Linked DNA regions of Homo sapiens: region 1 is linked to region 2. The links are contacts of gene promoters, found by promoter capture Hi-C in human tissues and cell types (Jung and others, 2019). All regions are on one chromosome and are shown on one strand. Each heading gives the region's core, a stretch centred on a gene start or on the middle of the fragment in contact. The rest is flanking DNA. Distances are from core to core; before and after follow the strand shown. Region 1 has its middle 4.5 kb from the start of LINC03006. Region 2 holds the start of ASL (argininosuccinate lyase).

Evidence for each region. Contacts are between HindIII fragments. The study calls those that stand out against the background at their distance.
Region 1: a contact is called between a fragment that was not itself captured here and the fragment with the promoter of ASL in region 2, in 2 of the 25 tissues and cell types used here (hippocampus and lymphoblastoid cells).

What each region holds. Positions count from the first base shown.
Region 1 is chr7:65,774,001-65,776,700 of GRCh38, forward strand. It overlaps the pseudogene GTF2IP5. Among named protein-coding and RNA genes, the nearest start is that of LINC03006, 4.5 kb to the left of the region's middle. RefSeq lists enhancers at 1,390-1,891, 1,892-2,391. The HindIII fragment of the contact is 4,143 bases long and covers 1-2,700 here.
Region 2 is chr7:66,074,532-66,077,356 of GRCh38, forward strand. It overlaps ASL (argininosuccinate lyase), which reads left to right and starts at 1,288. Exons shown (of 17, transcript NM_000048.4): 1 at 1,288-1,325; 2 at 1,508-1,562. The coding sequence starts at 1,551. RefSeq lists a silencer at 929-1,458 and an enhancer at 1,559-1,838. The HindIII fragment of the contact is 4,995 bases long and covers 1-1,972 here.

The sequences.
Region 1 (2,700 bases), core at 38-2,537, 300 kb before region 2:
TCAATGGTTTCTCTTAGCTTTAAAACCTTCTTTATTTCAGAACTATTTCACCTGTTGGTTTTCGTTTTTGCTGTGTGTCACTGCCTGCCAGCTGCTATTGTGTTAACTCCCAGTGGATCATGTGTCCTGTGAAGGGACTGAATGAGATATTAATGGCAAATTATGTTGATGATTCATATTTTGAATATAAATAGATCATTAAGCTTGTATACATTTTGAAAATAGTATGTTAATATTCTGTTGTGTCATAGTCACAATGATTGGCTACATATTGAATTTATATGTACATTAAGTTGTTGTATGCTTATGTTCTTTAACATTCTAACTTGCAACTGTATATCTGTTAAGTCTTTTTTTTTTTTTTTCCGAGAAGATCAGACTCTGATTTATTGAGGCATCTGTTTGATGCCAAGTTAAGTGGCCCAGGCTCTGTGTAGGGGGTGAGGTTAACGCAGGAAGAAAGATGGTGAGGGGCAAGGGTGCAAGGATTATGTTGGAATGAGGCTCCCCAAGTTTCCCTGGCCCTGGCTGGTTGTGCTGCTGGCCTGAACATCTGATGAGCTTGCAAGGGTGACTCCGAGAGGTGGGTGGTCCAGGGGCTAGGGCAGGGACTTTGGAGTCACGCTGTTGGCTTTGAATCCAGACTCCTACACTTGGTAGCTGTGACCTTTCCATGCCTCAGTGACCTGCAGAACTGAGCTCTGTCTGAGCCAGGTCCCATCCAGGCACTGCAGATCCATCCAGAGTTAAACCACCCCAGGTTGCTGACTATCTGCTGCCTTCTCAAGCAGATCCTTGTCTCCTTGGAGGCCTTCACAATCCAGTGGAGGAGGCAAAACTCATCTGCCTCTGTCCCTCTGGGTGCACCTCATGCCAGGTGCATCTGTGGGCACAGGTCATGCTCCTGGGCTTCCAAAGTTGGAGAAAGTTGCCAGGCTCAGGTGGCTATATCAGAGCAGCTGCTACCCTCTGGACACAGTGACAAAAGAACACTCTGGGCCTAGAGTCCTGGTCTGGGGCACTGGGCAAGGCTCTTGCACTTCTCTGAGCCCGTTTCCCCATCTGGAAAGTGTGCTGATTGAGTCTCCCTTTGGGCACTGAGGGCTCAGGGTTAGTTTGAGAGCCAGCATCTGGGGTTTGGGCTGTAATTCCCCTTCAGCCCCATAGCTGGGGGGAGTCAGGGACTTTGTCGGGATTACCCTAGGCATCAGTCCAGCTTCCTGCTCCTGGCTTGGGCTCAGCATCTGAAGTAGTTTGGGGGGCAGGTGGTCCTGGTGGGGGTTGGGGCTTTTCCCCAGAATTAGGTCACACCCAGAGCCAGAAATCTTGGCACCTGCTCTAGGCTAAGGATGCATCTGGCCCCCAGGGTGCAGGTAACTGCCCACCTTTCCTGGTTTCTGCCTGCCAGGGCCAATCTTCAGACCTCGGGACTTCCCAGCCTATCCCACCTCCCTCTCTGGCCAGCCTTGAACCCTCGTGGGTCCAGCACTTTTTCCAGGCCATCTCCTGGTTGTCCTCCTGCCCCGAGGCCTGGCTCATGCTGCTCCCCCTCCCACTCACCATGACCCACAAGGACCACTCCACACCCAGCTCAGCCCCAACCCCTTGGATAGTCCTTTCGCTTTCCTCAGGCAACCAGGTGCATATCTTGGTGTCAGGACCTTCCCTGCACCTGGGAATGCCTACTGGTCACGTCGGTCACAGAGACCAAGGCATTTACTTGATTTGAGTGCCTTTGGTTCATTGTCTGCATGGCCAGGGAGGGAGTCAATGATAGGCTTTTCACTTGCTGCAAGGGTCAGTTCTCCTGGCCCCATGGCCCTAGGGATGGAGGATGCTGCAGGATACACACCCCTCACTTCCCAGCTGAGTGCTGTGGGTCATCTCAGGGCGATTTCACAGTCCCGCATGCCCCACCCCCTCAGCTCTGCAAATACCAAGCAGCGCAGCCTGCCTAGGGGACAGTGGGCTCAGGACTGCCCAGGTGGGCTCAAGACTGCCCAGGTAGTCCCCAGAGTGCCCTTGGCAGGCCCCTCACCTAGCTGCTCCCACAGCTCTGTAGCAAGAGTCTAACCTTTTTTGAGTGTGGAGCCTGCTGAGAATGAGAACTGTGGGCTGTTTTCCCGGAAACGCATGTGCACACTCTCCACACAAAACCTTGCATCGTTTCAGGGGGCTCACACCTCCCTAAGGGCCCAGTTATTGAACCCCTCGGACCTGAGAATGAGAAACCTTGCCTCAATAGAGTCTTGCTCTGTTGCCCAGGCTGGAGTGCAGTGGCCCAACCTCAGCTCACTGCAACCTCCGCCTGCTGGGTTCACGCAATTCTCCTGCCTCAGCCTCCTGAGTAGCTGGGACTACAGATGCGCACCTACCACTCTCAGCTAATTTTTTGTATTTTTAGTAGAGATAGGGTTTCACCATGTTGGCCAGGATGGTCTAGATCCCTTGACTTCGTGACCCGCCCGCCTCGGCCTCCCAAAGTCCCAGGCATGAGCCACCACGCTGAGTCAGGGTCCCTCTTAAACTTGTATTTTTAAGGTCTGGTGTCCCTCTTACTTAATCTTTTTTTTTTTTCTTTTTTGAGACGGAGTCTTGCTCTGTCACCCAGGCTGGCAGTGGCATGGCCTCGGCTCACTGCAACGTCCGCCTCCTGGGTTCAAGTGATTCTCCTGCCTCAACCTCCTGAGTAGCTGGGAC
Region 2 (2,825 bases), core at 38-2,537:
TGGGACTACAGGCACCCACCACCACACCCGGCTAATAGAGACAAGGTTTCACCATGTCAGCCAGGCTCATCTCGAATTCCTGACCTCAGGTGATCCGCCCGCCTCAGCCTCTCAAAGTGCTGGGATTAAAGGCGTAAGCCACTGTGCCCGGCTGCGTTTCTTTTTTCTTTTCTTTTCTTTCTTTCTTTCTTTCTTTCTTTTTTTTTTTTTTTTTTTTTTTGAGACAGAATCTTGCTCTGTCACCCAGGCTGGAGTGCAATGGCACCATCTCAGCTCACTGCAATCTCCGCCTCCCGGGTTCAAGAGATTCTCCTGCCTCAGCCTCCGGAGTCGCTGGGATTGCAGGCACCCGCCACCGTGCCCGGCTAATTTTTGTATTCTTAGTAGAGACGGGGTTTCACCACCTTGGCCAGGCTGGTCTCAAACTCCTGACCTCGTGATCCACCCGCCTCGGCCTTCCAAAGTGCTGGGATTACAGGCGTGAGCCACCGCGCCCGGCCTCCGGCCGCGTTTCTTTTCTTTTTTAGAGGAGTCAGGCTGGAGTGCCGTGGCACAATAGCTCACTGCAGCTTCGAACTCCTGGGCTCAAGTGCTCCTCCCGCCTCAGCCTCCTGAGTAGCTAGGACTGCAGGCGTGCACCACCACGCCCGGCTTTTTTTTTATTATTATTAATTTTTTTGTAGAGACGGGATCTTGTTGTATTGCCCAGGCTGGTCTCCAACTCGTAGCCTCAAGCGATCCTCCCACCTCGGCCTCCCAAAGTGCTGGGATTACAGCTGTGAGCCACCGCGCCTGGCACAGGCTTCATTTCTGATGGTCCTTCCTTTTTCCTTGATGCCTTTCTCTGTACCTGGCACATAGAGGTGCCTGGTACGTGTTTGTTGAATGAATGAATGAATGAGTGAATGAGCGAACATGCCATTTCACCTTATATATCTTGTGAACCTGCCAGGCCCGGGCCTGATGTCATAGCCTCTACCCCTGGCCCGAGTCTCCAGTCCCCTGCGTGTCTGCTGACCACAGCACGAACGCCAGCGCACTACCCTCCTCAACCCCAGCCCAGGCCCCTTCCCCGTCGGGGTCCCCCCAACCCTTTCCCCGCCCGCTTCCCCGCCCCGGGGCCGCTTAGCCTCCAGCTCAGCGGGAGGTATCCCCGCCCACGGCCAGGATTGGAGGATGGAGGCAACGCCCACCCCGCCGGGCGGCCTCCTATTGGCGCGGCCGTCGCCAGGGGTGGGGACAGGACCGGCGGCTGCTGACGCCATCCCGGCCAGAAAAGCCCTGGCCAGTGGCGGGCGCGACACTATCCGTGCGGCCAGGCGGAGGTGAGTGCGCGGCGGCCGGATGGGCGGGACGGGCGTGGAGGACGCCGAGCACCGTGGCGCGCGCTCACGTCCGCGTCCCCAAGGGCTGCGCTCCCTCAAGCGCAGTGCCCAGAACTCGGAGCCAGCCCGGCCCGGGGGACCCTGCTGGCCAAGGAGGTCGTCAGTCCGGTCTTGTCTTCCAGACCCGGAGGACCGAAGCTTCCGGACGACGAGGAACCGCCCAACATGGCCTCGGAGGTGAGTGGGACCTCGGGGACTCCGGTCCTCCTAGCCTCCAAAGGAGAGAGTGGGGGCGCCAGACCTGCCTCGGGCCACCCTGCTGGGAATCGCCCTCCAGGAAGCAATTTTGAAAATTACCTAGGAAGCCTGCACCCCCAGCCCTCCCGGGCGCATCATCTGGAGCCCAGCAGTCACCTTTACCAGGACTCACCAGTATCCGCAGGCAGCCCTTGTGGCAAACCCACCAACCCACACTACTAGGGGTAGAGTGGCTCTGCCCTCACCTCACAGTGATGCCTGCCTGGCCAGGAAAAGTGGCTCCCAAGCCTTCAGCCTTCCAACTCTTCCTTCCTTCTTACCACGTGTCCTCCTGTCAGGTCCCACCCCACACCACATCCCTTCTCCTGCTAGAGCAATTGTCCCTGTTTATAGAATAAAGCTCAGCCCCTAAGTGTTCTTGTCCTTGACTGTGGCATGTGGAAAGAGCCAGGAAAAAGGGGACGTCGCCTCGTGGCTCCAGCAACCCTGGTGCCTGGTCCCTTCCTGTCTCACTGGACCCTGCCTCTTAGGGTCAGTGGCTCCTGGCCTCTCCTCCTGACCACTGAGATGCTGGATTCCCAGGCAGAGGTTTTCCTTCCTTGGGCCATAGTTGATTTATCTGGCAATGGGGGTAATAATAGCTGTCGGCCTCACTCTGTAAGGCACTAGATTATGAGGCCATTGCTTTGGACCCTTCAGGTGAGAGGGGCTGTTCGCCTGATGCTTGATGAAGGGAACTCCGGGAAGCAGGAGGTCTGGGTTCCAGGCCCTTTTGGCCTTCATTAGCTAGCAATTCACTTCCTCTTTCTCAATGCCCTGCAAGCTCAGTGCCCTGCAAGCTTCTGGGTCATGGCAGGGGGGTAGGGCCTGGACTTTGGAGCCAAACAGACTTGGTTTCTGTACCAGTCACTTGAGCCCTTTAAACCTCTTTCCTCATTTGTGAAATAGGGGTAATATTGCCCACCTCATAAAAGGCCGTAATAACATATGTGAAATCCCTAGCACAGGGCTGAGCAACAGTAGGTGCTCAATAAATGGTGGCTAACCACAACAATACTGATATTTCTACTTTGGGAGGCCGAGGCGGGAGGACTGCTGAAGCCCAGGAATTCCAGACCAGCCAGGGCAATGTAATGAGACCCTGTCTCTACAAAAAGATTTTGAAAATTACCCAGGTGTGGTGGCGTACACCTGTAGTCTCACAGGAGGCGGAGGCATGAGGATTGCTTGAGCCCAGGAGTT